2 separate regions of the Homo sapiens genome follow, and region 1 is linked to region 2. Evidence: promoter capture Hi-C in human tissues and cell types (Jung and others, 2019). All regions are on one chromosome and are shown on one strand. Each heading gives the region's core, a stretch centred on a gene start or on the middle of the fragment in contact. The rest is flanking DNA. Distances are from core to core; before and after follow the strand shown. Region 1 overlaps BCL2L14 (BCL2 like 14). Region 2 holds the start of TAS2R19 (taste 2 receptor member 19).

What was found. Contacts are between HindIII fragments. The study calls those that stand out against the background at their distance.
Region 1: a fragment that was not itself captured here is called in contact with the fragment with the promoter of TAS2R19 in region 2 in 1 of the 25 tissues and cell types used here (stomach).

Annotation. Positions count from the first base shown.
Region 1 is chr12:12,079,268-12,085,735 of GRCh38, forward strand. It overlaps BCL2L14 (BCL2 like 14), which reads left to right. Exons shown (of 6, transcript NM_138723.2): 2 at 32-471. The coding sequence starts at 39. Among named protein-coding and RNA genes, the nearest start is that of BCL2L14, 12 kb to the left of the region's middle. RefSeq lists a silencer at 2,568-2,862. The HindIII fragment of the contact is 3,043 bases long and covers 222-3,264 here.
Region 2 is chr12:11,019,993-11,027,280 of GRCh38, forward strand. It overlaps TAS2R19 (taste 2 receptor member 19), which reads right to left and starts at 2,628. Exons shown (of 1, transcript NM_176888.2): 1 at 1,627-2,628. The coding sequence starts at 2,579. The coding sequence ends at 1,680. All of the region lies in intron 3 of PRH1-TAS2R14 (PRH1-TAS2R14 readthrough), which reads right to left. The region is part of intron 3 of PRH1-PRR4 (PRH1-PRR4 readthrough); the gene reads right to left. It also overlaps a transcript of PRH1 not described here. The HindIII fragment of the contact is 6,813 bases long and covers 223-7,035 here.

The sequences.
Region 1 (6,468 bases), core at 493-2,992, 1.1 Mb after region 2:
GAAGGGCACAGTGTGGACTTTGTTGTTACAGGCCCAACATGTGTAGCACCAGTGGGTGTGACCTGGAAGAAATCCCCCTAGATGATGATGACCTAAACACCATAGAATTCAAAATCCTCGCCTACTACACCAGACATCATGTCTTCAAGAGCACCCCTGCTCTCTTCTCACCAAAGCTGCTGAGAACAAGAAGTTTGTCCCAGAGGGGCCTGGGGAATTGTTCAGCAAATGAGTCATGGACAGAGGTGTCATGGCCTTGCAGAAATTCCCAATCCAGTGAGAAGGCCATAAACCTTGGCAAGAAAAAGTCTTCTTGGAAAGCATTCTTTGGAGTAGTGGAGAAGGAAGATTCGCAGAGCACGCCTGCCAAGGTCTCTGCTCAGGGTCAAAGGACGTTGGAATACCAAGATTCGCACAGCCAGCAGTGGTCCAGGTGTCTTTCTAACGTGGAGCAGTGCTTGGAGCATGAAGGTAGGCATCTGGGATTTCTTTCTCTCCCGCTTCCTGGTTTTTCCCTTCTTTGTGTCCAGAGTGGTACATCTCTTCTCATGTTGTAAAGTGGCTTTAGAGAAGGCATGCGTTGTGCCTCAGCTTTCCAACTTATTAGTGTTCAATCATAATTGCCCTGCTTTTCTCAAGACTAAAAGGAGTTGCTGCCTGGGCGCGGTGGCTCACGCCTGTAATCCCAGCACTCTGGGAGGCCAAGGCGGGTGGATCATGAGGTCAGGAGATTGAGACCATCCTGGCTAACACGGTAAAACCCCGTCTCCACTAAAAAATACAAAAAATTAGCCGGGCGTGTTGGCGGGTGCCTGTAGTCCCAGCTACTCGGGAGGCTGAGGCAGGAGAATGGCGTGAACCCAGCAGGCGGAGCTTGCAGTGAGCCAAGATGGCATCACTGCACTCCAGCTTGGGTGACAGAGTGAGACTCCGTCAAAAAAAAAAAAATGACTAAAAGGAAATGATGGAAGTTAAGGGTGCTGGGACTGGTTTTCTTTCTCCACTGTCTATAAATAAGCTTGTTTCCCAAATTCCTAGTCCTCTGTACCAGACACCAATATAAAAGAAGGAGGCTAGGCGCAGTGGCTCATGCCTGTAATTCCAGCACTTTGGAAGGTTGAGGTGGGCAGATCATAAGGTCAGGAGTTCAAGACTAGCCTGGCCAACATAGTGAAAACCCGTCTCTACTAAAGATACAAAAAATTAGCCGGGCATGGTGGCGCATGCTTGTATTCCCAGCTACTCGGGAGGCTGGGGCAAGAGAATCGCTTGAACCTGGGAGGCGGAGGTTGCAGTGAGCCGAGATTGCATCACTGCACTCCAGCCTGAGCTACAGGGTAAGACTTTGTCTCAAAAAAAAAAAAAAAAAAGAACGAGCCCTAACCAGGGGCTTGCTTGGGCTGCCTGGGCCGCTGCTCTTCCTAAGTCAACTCATTCGCTCAGGGCCTCTGTGTTTCCATCTGTACATTGGGTACCCCACTCTCTCCACCTCGTATGGTTGATGGGAAGATCAGAGAGCAAGAGTAAAAGGACTCTTGACAAAGTACAAACCATCCTACAAAAACAACTGAGAAGCATTTAGACAAAATCTTCCCTCAGTTGGACAAAATTAATTGTACTTAATGAAACATTTTCACCAGGCACTGAGGCTCATACCTGTAATCCCAGCACTTTGGGAGGCCAAGGTGGGTGGATCGGTTGAGCTCAGGAGTTCAAGACCAGCCTTAGCAACATGGCAAAACCCTGTCTCTACCAAAAAATACAAAAAAATTAGTCAGACATGGTGGTGCACGCCTGTGGTCCTGGCTACTCGGGAGGCTGAGGTGGGAGGATGGCTTGAGCCTGGGAAGTAGAGGTTGCAGTGAGCCAAGATGATGCCACTGCACTCCAGCCTGGGTGACAGAGTGAGAGCCCATCACGTCGATACTCTCAGCACTGTGGGAAACCAAGGCAGGAGGATCACTTGACACCAAGAGTTTGAGATCAGCCTGGCATCATAGCAAGACCCTGTCTCCATTAAAAAATTAAAATAAAAAAATTAGCGAGGCATGGTGGCACATGCCTGTTGTCCCAGCTACTATGGAGGCTGAGGTGGAAGGATCACTTGAGCTCAGGAGGTCAAGGCTGCAGTGAGCGAAGATCACATCACTGCACCCCAGCTCTGGGTGACATAATGAGACTCTGTCTCCAAAAAAAAAAAAAAAAAGACAGTTGCCCTTCATGCGCACACCTTGGCATAAGCATCTTCTTCCCCTTCAACAAAGCCCAGTGCCCAAAGCCCAGATTTTTTTTTTTTTTTTAAGGTGTTTTAGATGGAGTCTTGCTCTGTCGCCCAGGCTGGAGTGCTGTGGTGTAATCTCGGCTCACTGCAAGCTCCGCCTCCCAGGTTCAAGCAATTCTCCTGCCTCAGCCTCCTGAGTAGCTGGGATCACAGGCGCGCACCACCAGGCCTGGCTAATTTTTGTATTTTTAGTAGAGACAGCGTTTCACCATGTTGGTCAGGCTGGCCTCGAACTCCTGACCTCGTGATCTGCCCACCTTGGGCTCCCGAAGTGCTGGGATTACAAGTGTGAGCCACTGCACCCAGCCGCAAAGCCAGATTTTAAAAGAAAGGCCCCCTCCTGCTGAGTTTCATTGGCCTGGGTAACTTGTCAATAATTAGTCAAGAGGTGGCAGTAATGTCTCAGTTTTTAAATGTGACAGTCCTGGCTTGCTTGGAGAATCAGCCCACTCATAGACAGCTTTAGATCACTCACTATGATCAAGGAAACTCCCTTTTCCCATTAGAGTTTCAGATGTTTAGAACAGTGGGAGTTATGGTCAGGATCATCTGAGGGAACCTCATGGCACAGACAGGATGAGGAAATGGGAGTCCCACAAAAAGGGCTTACCAAGGAAACATCCAGGAAGTAGCAGAGCCTGGACTCACCAGAAGTCCAGGCCTCTCCCTAGACTTGTTTCATTTTTACAGCAAGGCATCTGCTCTCTGAACTCTGCCCAGCTAGGGCAGGTCTAGGGCAAGAGGGAGCGGCCCCCTGTGGTCCTTCCCTCCACATCTGCCTCCCCACCCCTCAGCTGCCCTCACCCAGCCATGGCTTCTTCTGCCGGGGGTGGCATCTGGGCTCTGGGGCAAAGAACAGTTTGGAGGCACCTAAATAGGCTTTTCTACTTGGCCTGTACTGTGGACTTTGCCAGCAGACAGAGAAAGCTTTTACAGACCTTAGTCTTCTGGTTTTTCCTGAGATAAATTGCATTCTGTATTTCAGTATTTACTGGAGTGTCATTTGACATTTTTTTTATTTTCTAAAATTTCAAGAGAAGCTTTTATTTCTTTTTTCAGTAGGGAAAGAAAACTTTTATGTGAGATTGAGAATTAAAGATTACATTCAAAAACACTTAGGTGATGTGTTAATGTGCTGAATAGCTGAATAGTACCTATGGCTGAATAATATTCTCCATAAAAAATGAAAAATGATTACCTCCTAAGAAGGCTTTAAACACATATTTACAGCTTATCTTCCCTTATCACCTTTCTCCTCACGCTTGCATTTAGTCAGTTAATTGTGTGTTTTTTACTTGTGTTACTTGTGTCGGTTTTACATTGAGCGTGATCCAAGAGAGCCTCACATTCTATTTCTATTTTGCCACATACAAATCAGGCCTTGCAAATTTGGTTTCTCCTGGGTTCTTTTTTGTTTGTTTGTTTGTTGTTTTTGAGACAGAGTCTTGCTCTGTCACCCAGGCTGGAGTGCAGTGGCCTGATCTCGGCTCACTGCAACCTCTGCCTCCTGGGTTCACACCATTCTCCTGCCTCAGCCTCCCGAGTAGCTGGGACTACGGGCGCCCACCACCACGCCCGGCTAATTTTTTGTATTTTTAGTAGAGACAGGGTTTCATCGTGTTAGCCAGGATGGTCTCGATCTCCTGGCCTCGTGATCTGTCCGCCTCAGCCTCCCAAAGTGCTGGGATTACAGGCGTGAGCCACCGTGCCTGGCCTCACCTGGGTTATTTTAACTGTAAGTCACTATGTAGCCTTGTACAGCCACTGCCAGGCCTCAGTACCGGGCTTACATGGGAACTGTGAGATTATGTCCCAAGACCAAACTCTGTTAGGAAGAGGCCTCAGGATGCAGAGAAATGGACAATAACACCAGTTTTAAAGACTACCAACCCAGGCTCTTTCACTTGTGAATCTTTTGTTTCTCCATAGCTACGATTTGCTCACGTGGAATGTTATAGTTAAGGTGAGGTTCAGCGATATACAGTGGAACACTCAAATACCCATGGCTTAAATAATATACAGGTTTGCTTTTCTCTCCTTTAAAAGAGGACAAAAGTTTGGCAGCTCAGGCATGATATGACAGCTCCACAAAGTTATTAAGAATTTCTGGGAATGGCCAGGCAGGGTGGCTCATGCCTATAATCCCAGCCCTTTGGGAGTCTGAGGTGGGCAGATCACTTGAGCCAAAGAGTTTGAGACCAGCCTGAGCAACATGACAAAACCCCGTCTCTATTAAAAAAAATACAAAAATTAGCCAGGCGCCATGGTGCGCGCCTGCAGTCTCAGCTACTCGAGAGGCTGAAGGAGGAGAATCACTTGAGCCTGGGAGGCGCAGGTTGCACTGAGCTGAGATCACACCATTGCACTCCAGCTTGGATGACGGGGTGAAAAAAAGAATTCCTGGGAATTCTGCCATCCCTCAGCTCGTGGCTTCCACCTCAAAGTCACCTTATATTCTAAAGGTGGCTGTTGGGGCTTCACCCATCATGTCTACATCTCAGGCAAGAATAAAAAGGAAGCAAAGGAAGGGCAAAGGGTGCCTTCTTTCTAGGTAATTCAGCTCCCTTTTATTTTATTATTATTTTTTAATCTTTTGTAAAGATGGGGTCTGTGTTACCCAGGCTGGTCTCGAACTCCTGGCCTAAAATGATGGCCTCGCCTTGGCCTCCCAAAATGCTGGGATTACGGGCGTGAGCCACCGCACCCAGCCTTAGCTCCCTTTTCGAGAGCTTTCTTGAAACTGCCCCCAGCTTCTGACATCTCATTGGCCCTTCCCTACTGCAAGGGAGCCCAGGGAATATAGTTTGTTCAGCTGGGTTCATTGCTGCCCCTCACATTTTAGAGGTCTGTTACTAAGGAAGAAGAAGAAAGTGGATACTGAGTGGGAAAGAGCAGTCCATAAGGAAGTCACACCCCAACCCCCTGCCCTTTCTCTTTAAAACAAATGCCTCAGACCACAGGCGAAATGGGACCTTCCGACCCTGTTGGCCTGCTCTTCCTGGCGCCACGATGACCCCCAAAACAGACTCCAAGGAACAGACAGCCTTTCTGTCTTCTCCCCACCCCATCCAGTGTTCCCTCGCCTATCAGACAGGACCAAGTCTGACAAGGATATAATCTTTTCTTTTTCATGTTTTAAAATTAAAATATCCAAGATGGGAATTTTAACTAGAGCTAGTGCATCTGTGGGAACATGTTTGCTTATAGTTTCTCCTGGACATGTCTCACTCCATGTCCACAAACCCACAGAAATCAATACCCTGCTGTAACCCCAGCACTTTGGGAGGCTGAGGCAGGAGGATCACCTGAGGTCAAGAGTTCAAGACCAGCCTGGCCAACATGGCAAAACCCTGTCTCTACTGAAAATATACAAAAATTAGCTGGACGTAGTGGCGGGAGCCACTACGTCCTGTAATCCCAGCTACACAGGAGGCTGAGGCAGAGAGAATGGCTTGAACCCAGAAGGTGGAGGTTGCAGCGAGCCGAGATCGTGCCATTGCACTCCAGCCTGGGCAACAGAGCGAGACTCCGTCTCAAAAAAAAAAAAAAAAAAAAAGTCAATACCCTGTACACAGTTAGCCAGATTGAGTAATTTTGTACCTGTTGGTGATCTTGTGGCCACCCTGCCTTATGAGAGGAGGAGGGGACAGAGCCTTTGGGACCCTTCATGGAGCTTCTTAATGTGCAAGATGGGCACAGGGTGCTTTCTGGTGGTAGAACCGCATGCTGATTACCCTAGATGAGCTGCACAAGGTTGAAAAGGCAGCAGAGGCCTGCTTTCCTTTCTCATCTCCTGAGGACATGGCCAGGGAAGTTTCCCTTGGCTTTGGAAGATAGCCTCTTGCCATTTCTTTCTTTGCCAGGGGCCATGGGTGGCCAGAGTTCCAGCGGAGGCCGGCTGGGCTGCAATAAGGGGATTACAAAGTGGAAAGTCTGTTTCGCTTGGTTCTTAAAAAACGAGGAGGAAAGACATTGATCCTTTTCTTCTTGATCTTTCTTCTCTCCGTCATTCGCTTCTTATTGGTTTTTGAACCCTGTGGACTAACCATGGAAAAGATGGCTTTATGAGTCAGATGTCCACCAGAGGATGGCATCATGGACAGAGCAGTATCTTCTGTGGCCTTTCCGTGAATGGCTGGAGGGCTGAAGGGAGGACACTGAAGCCTTCAGCTTGGAGGAATCCAGGG
Region 2 (7,288 bases), core at 1,378-3,877:
TTCCACCTTGTCTCTACTTCACACACCTGATATAGCTGCATCAAAGCTATATTACAGTGATATTTCCCCTAGAATTGTGGACTAGCCAAACTTTTGCTCTGAGAAATGCTTCTTCTTCAAAAAGCCTATAACCTCAACCTGAAAATAGAAAATTCAAGCAACTGCAGATTTTATGATGAGCTTCATTTTCACTGATTTACCACATCAAATTATCCATTTATCCAATCACTTATGTGTTCATTAACATATCATTTTTGACCAACTATTCTTTGTGCTGGCTTTTAGGTCCTGTGAGTCAAGAGAAAGCGAGACAGATATGACCTCTCTTTTTATGGTGATTACATTGTACTAGGGAGGACGTATGATAAGCGATATATATATATATATATATATATATATGTCTATAGATATAGATATAGATACATAGATATATATATGATGTGGAGTTAACTTATTTTAAGTTCTACATAATAATGTTAAAATTTCATAACACCAAGAATTAACACAGTCACACAGAATTTAGCTCTTCAACAAGGCTGTACATTTCCTTCTTATAATAGAACTTGGTATCAATGGATACATCAACACACTGTGTAATTTCACCATTTACACCATTATAATAATACATATCATTAATACATTTCCTATCAATTATATAGATTTCACAGATTTTTATGTAATTTTTACATAATTTTTAACATTTGAGGAAAGTTTCATTTGATTATCTTCTATAGTTTCTATACCCTCCTTTGATTGGCCTGTTTTTTTAAGATAGAGAATATTTGAGTTTTTTTGAGGAATATTAGGAATGGGAGACAAAGGAGAAAATTGGAAATTCAGGGGCTCAAGGTGGCTAAGAAAAACAAATGGAAATACTTGACATCAGATGTCAACTTCACAAAAGGTTTCCTTTAATTCAAAAAGTGGAAGCAATGACTTTTCTAACTACAGATAAAAAAATTATAACAGCACTGAAATGATCATCAGCATGTTTCTTCATTCCTATTATAGAAATGATTTTTATTCTAGGCTATTCACATACTGGTATTAAATCTAGTATTCTTTAGTACTGTTTTGGTATACATATACAAAATTTACTCTACATATGTTTTTCACTCCAATTTTATTGTGTGCATCATTAACTAACAACAATTCTATTTGCTTTCTACTAAGCATAAAATAAGAATTCATAATGAAATAAAACCTACCCCAAAGATCCATTCTTATCATTGATTTAAAATTGAATGTCTTTACCATCCAAAAAATTAGAGGTTCACCAATGATAGTTAAGCACATATATGTGGTACAAATTACAATGGAAAAGAGAAATGATTTCTTCATAAAAGCTGTACGTTCTTAATTATAAAGAGAGATAATAAATTCTTCAAATGAAATACTATACAATGAACTATAATAAAATATAAATACTATATATGTGAAATATACTCAGCTTCATAATTTATGGTCAACGTTGTTATTCACACACATGCACACATATACACCCATAAATATATATATGACTTTTCTAGGTATCTGTTTTGAAATTACTCACATACAAACACTATGGAAAAACTGATAGAAATATAAAATGTTCCAGACACCATCAGTTTGTTTTCTGCTAGAAGACCCACGATGCTCCCCTTGTGAATCTATGGAGTTGAGGGTTTCTCTTCTTTCACTCAGCGTGTCATCTGCCACAAAACTGAAAGAAAGGTCTGTTTTAGCTTCCTACTTCCCATAATCAGGATGAATGAGTGGAATGAAGGATACATGATTGCAACAGTTTGGCAAAGCAGGAGTACAAGTTTGCTCTGCTGTGTCCTAAGATTCCAAGTTGATGTGATTATACACAGAAAGTAAATGGCAAATAACATGAGGAAGGAGGTCACAGTTTGCAAAGCTTTTATATGGACCTTGGTGCTGGGATCTTGAGATCCTTTGCTATGGAGCCGCATCTTCTTGAGATGTTTACAAAGAGAACAGATTAACAGCAGAAAACATATTAGGCTCAGAGTAAAGGGTATGAGGTTTGCTAGAGTAGTTACAGTCAAGCTTGAAAGGTGTATTGCATTCCTCAATTTGATCTTCCAAGTCACATTTCCTTCATATTCTTTTGTCCACACTCTCTCATCCATGGTTATCACAGCAAGATTACAAATCAGAAATACCAAGGGCCCCAACAGTATCACCAGAACAACACTCTTAATTCTCTTCTTTAGGTGGAGAGAAATAAGGTTGGAGAAATTGGCAATCTTGAGCAAACAAAATATGCTGAGGCTAGCAGCAAGCCACATGCTGAAATGGTTCGTTACAGCCCAGGCATTAGAAGCAACAATTCTTACTTCTAAACCATATAAAGCAGAATTAAACACAGTTGCATACCAAAGGAATAACATGACCCAGAGTAAACCAATTCTGGAGACCACCAGAGCAGTGAGAATTTGCTCAGCTGAGGAGATCTTTCGTGTGTTAACCCAGTCAATGACATTTACTAGGGCTATGAAGCCATTGGCAACATTTCCAAGAACAAATGCAAACACTACCAGAATTGATGAAATGATGAGCAGAAAACACATCATGTTTGAACAGATAAAAAAATGCAGGCTTAGTAACACTTGTTCTGAGTCCTTTAACATCCAGATGTTAACTTCGATGAACACTTGATTACTAAATGTGCAATAACATTTTCTGCCTTTAAATTCAGTGACTAGTGTCAACAGGCAAGCACCAGCATATGCTAATAGATGAATTCAAAACTGTCTTTATAGAAATAGAAAAGGTCATTATTCTCAAAACAGCTCAAATTCACTCCTCTTCATATACATTCTCTCCTTGCTATATGCTGTACTTTTTTATACTGAGGTTGAAGTGGAAAATGAATTCTCATGTGTTAGTATGCAAAGAAAGGCATATTATTTTTCATTGTTTTGCAATTTTTTTCCTTGTTTAACCTCTCCATAATTTGTATACAGCATCTTCAGTTGTTCCATAGGGAAATTGTAAAACCCAATACATATATCATATAGTAAATGTCTAAATTGTTAAAGGAGCTTGGTCATAACTAGGATCATACCAATATGGACTTATTTTTATGCCAGATTTAAATACCAGATTCTAAACCTTTTATCAAAATCATCCAAGATTATCTTGGAAATCCCTGGGAGGCTGATACACTTTAAAATCTGGTTTCTGATAACCAATAAATTGATATGACATCATTGTTAATAAGCTCCTAAACACATAGACACACATGCACTCACACCCTTAGGGCATGGAAGGAATTATTTTCTTATAATTCCCCAAATGGAAAATGAGTTTCCAGGAACTCATCCAGGTGGTATTAGTCTTATTTTCCAACTCAGGGCTGTCAGACAATGAATAATATTTATCAAACATGTTTCTCAAGCTTAGGCCTTTGGTATATTTACACTCAAGTCTGTTTTGTTTAAACATTAATTATTTAATTAAAATGTTCAGCAATTTTGTAAATATTTCTAAGTACCCTACTCTTTGTCACATAATCCTGCAGTACCCTCCCACCTCAGGCAGGGTGACTACCTTGACCTTGGACTCTGAATTCACTCACGTAATTTGCTTCAGTCAACAGGAAATTAGTAGAATTTACAGAGATTTAAGATGGCTTCCATATTGAAGTTTCCTGCTCTTTTCCACTAACCATGAGGACATCATCTGGCTAGCACACTGTTCCCAGAAGAAGAAAGAGAAACTAATGGAGTCAGAATGCCACTGCCTTATCTACCCTAAATCAGCCAAACTAGCGGCAAGATGCAGTACGTGGCCCATCTCCAATCACCAGAGCCATCCACCAAACCTAGGTTAGAAAAATGTAATCCAAAGACATAATGATACACAATTATCTAACTCAGTTTTCTCTTGCAGAAAAACATAAGTGATGTAGGTATTCTGCTAAATCAGGAGTGTGGGAAATATGCCCACCATTGTTGTGTCAGGAATTCAGGATCGAAGGAAAAAATAGAGAATGTCCAAGTTTTGTCATATGAAGTGGGTAATTAAACCTAAAAGAAAAACCTATTCAGAAATCTGTGGTTGGCAGGTAACATCATGTCAAGTTTCCTAAAGTTGCAACTAAAATCAGAAAGTTTCTACTTAAAATCTCTTAGAGTTACACATGAATGTATACAAATAGTGGATTTTTCCCTTCAGTATATAATGAGCAGAGTAATAATAATTTTCATGGACCATTTCTCCTAATTAATAATTTTTATCATATAGCTAGACTGCACACTTAGAAATGAACCAAAACAAAAATGGAAAACATAGCAATGTGTCATAAACACTCATGTAACCATCATGTAGGGCAAGACATGGAACATTGCTAAGAGCCTAAGTTTACCTCAATGCCACTTTCTAATTCCCTACACCTTTCTTCATGTCTCCTGTGATAAGCAACATCCCTAATTTATGATGGTCTTTTTTTAATATTCTTTATACTTTACCAATAAGGTATTCGACCCTAAACTCAATAGCTTGGTTTGGCCTGATTTGATCTATGTATAGGTGCAATCCTATATGTTCTTATTCATGGCTTCCTGGAATCAACATTTTGTATCCAAAATTTAACCCCATCATTGCATGTACATGTGATCCATATCTTTTCACTTCTCTATATTTTTTTCATTTTTTGATTTTACTGTAATTATTTATCCATCCTTATTTGATATATATTTGGACAGCTTATTTTTTGAGCTTTTATGAATAATGCTACAATGAACATTCTTTCACATATCATTTGCTACAATTCCTCTGTGTATATATATCTGGGTGTAGAATTACAGGGTCCTTGATTATGATGTTCAAATTCTTCTCACAGACATAGAAAAGCCCAAAACACAGTTTGACTAAATTTATTCCTGTTACCTTTATCTCCAGCCTCTTTATTGCTATTTGCATATATCTTATCAATTATACATTCAATCCAAGAAGACACTATTGTTTTATATAGTCAACATTTATTTAGAATTACACACTTAGTTTTCATTGTCATTAATTTTTTTTTTTTTTTTTGAGACATAGTCTCCCTGTCACCCAGGCTGGAGTGCAGTGGCACGATCTCTGCTCACTGAAAGCTCCGCCTTCCGGGTTTAGCCATTCTCCTGCCTCAGCCTCCGGAGTAGCTGGGACTGCAGGTGCCCGCCACCACGCCAGGCTAATTTTTTTTTATTTTTAGTAGAGACGGGGTTTCACCGTGTTAGCCAGCATGGATTGTCATTAATTTGTAATGCTCCTTGCGTGTTCAACTTTGTATTTTCAGTAATTTTATTTTATCTGAAAAATATCATTTTCAATTTCTGTTTATGAAGGTCTACTACTCTTTGGAAACACATTGAAGACATGATTCCCATTAATCCATTGAATTCCTGCTTCCATGTTTTCTGTTAAAATCAGGTTGTATTTAGAATACAGTTCTTTTCAACATACTCTATCTTCTACCTCTAGCTACTTTTCAGATTTTCTATTGGTCTTTTGCGTCCTGTATTATTTTATGTTAATTTGGTTTTAGTTATCATGCCTGAAGTTTGAGATTACTAAAAATATATTCAGGGATACATTTTATACCTTTTGGAAAAATCCTTGCAACATTTCTCTTGCTCTATTTTCTCTCCTCTAATCTTACAGAACTCCAGAAGTATGTTAGGTGTTCTGTCTGTAGCATCAATGTGTTACCCTCTAGCTCTGTGTATTTCCATCTCTTCCCTTCTATGCTTCATTCTGTGTAGCTATCTTCCAATTCACTTATTCTCTCTTGTACTGTATCCAACTGGTTAACTCTGTCTATTGGATTCTCAATATTGATAATTCATTTTTTCAGTCTTATTGTTTTAGTGTTCAGAATAATCTTTTATTCTCCTTCCATAAATCATTTTCTATGGGGAAACTGAACAAACTACTCTTAACACCATGTTCTTTTTAAAAGTGTTTTTGACTTTTGGAGTTTTTAGTTTTTTGTTTTACTCGATACTGTTTTACTTGATGTTTAAGATACCGGTGAGAACTTATACTTGTTTTTTTTTCTTCTTCTGAGACACAGTCTCCCTCTGTTACCCAAGCTGGAGTACAGTGGCAGGATCATAGTCCACTGCAGCCTGGAACTCCTGCGCTCAAGCAATCCTCCTGCCTCAGCTTCCCAAGTATTTGGAACTATAGGCATGCACCAACACACCAGCTAATTTTTTAAATTTTTTGTACAGACGGAGTTTCCACATGTTGTGAAGGGAACTCCTGCTCTCAAGGGATCCTCCCACCTTCGCCTCCCAAAGTGCTAGGACTGCAGGCATGAGCCATCACATCCAGCCTGCAGGGGGAGTTTTTGAAGGTCAGATACTACCTAGAGCTTCGGCTCATGTCCATTCCAAGGTGGAGCTAATCAGTTTGTAGTTACTACCTCTTCCTGAAAGTATAATTGAAATAGATATGTATGGCAGCCGGCAGGACTCACATTCTTCGTGAACTGTAGAGTAAAGGACATTATTATAGCAGGACCAAAGGGAAGCCTCTGAAATTCTCCTCTACTGGCAACAAAATATATAAAATATAATAACCGCATTCCCTAAGGAATGGAACTGGTCAGTGCCGTGACAAAACACTTGAAAGTTACAGGGGATGGTAGTCCTTTCTATAAGCCGATTCACTAAACCTATCTGGCCTCTATCAAAACCAGACGGGTTATAGAATGAATGCAGACTACCAGAAACTTAAATCAACACTCACAAATGCTTTCCAGGATGTGCTGTCTTCACTAAGCAGAGCAGAGCTTCTGGTACTTTTTACTGGGCTTGTGATTTGCTGAATGGTTCTTAATCTACACCCATTATGAGGAAAAATCAAAACAATTTGCCTTGTATCATAATAATAACACTGTGTCACTGTTTTATATCACGGCTATGTCACTTCTGTTTAATTTACATTTTTTAAAACATCGTGATTATTTAATATATTAATAATATTACAGACCAGGCCCTGTGGCACATGACTGTAATCCCATCATTTTAGGAGGCCGACACGGGAAGATCATTTGAGCCCAGGATTTTGAGACCAGCCTGGGTAACACTGTGAAATCCTAGCCCTACAGAAAATACAAAAATTAGCCAGGCGTGATGTTGTGCCCCTGCAGTCCCAGCTGCTAGCAATGCAGAGGTGGGGGAATCACTTGAGCCCAGAAGGTTGAGGCTGTAATGAGCTGTGATCCTGCCACTGAACTCCAGCCTCAGGGACAGAATGAGACCCTGTCTCAAAATAATAGCAATAA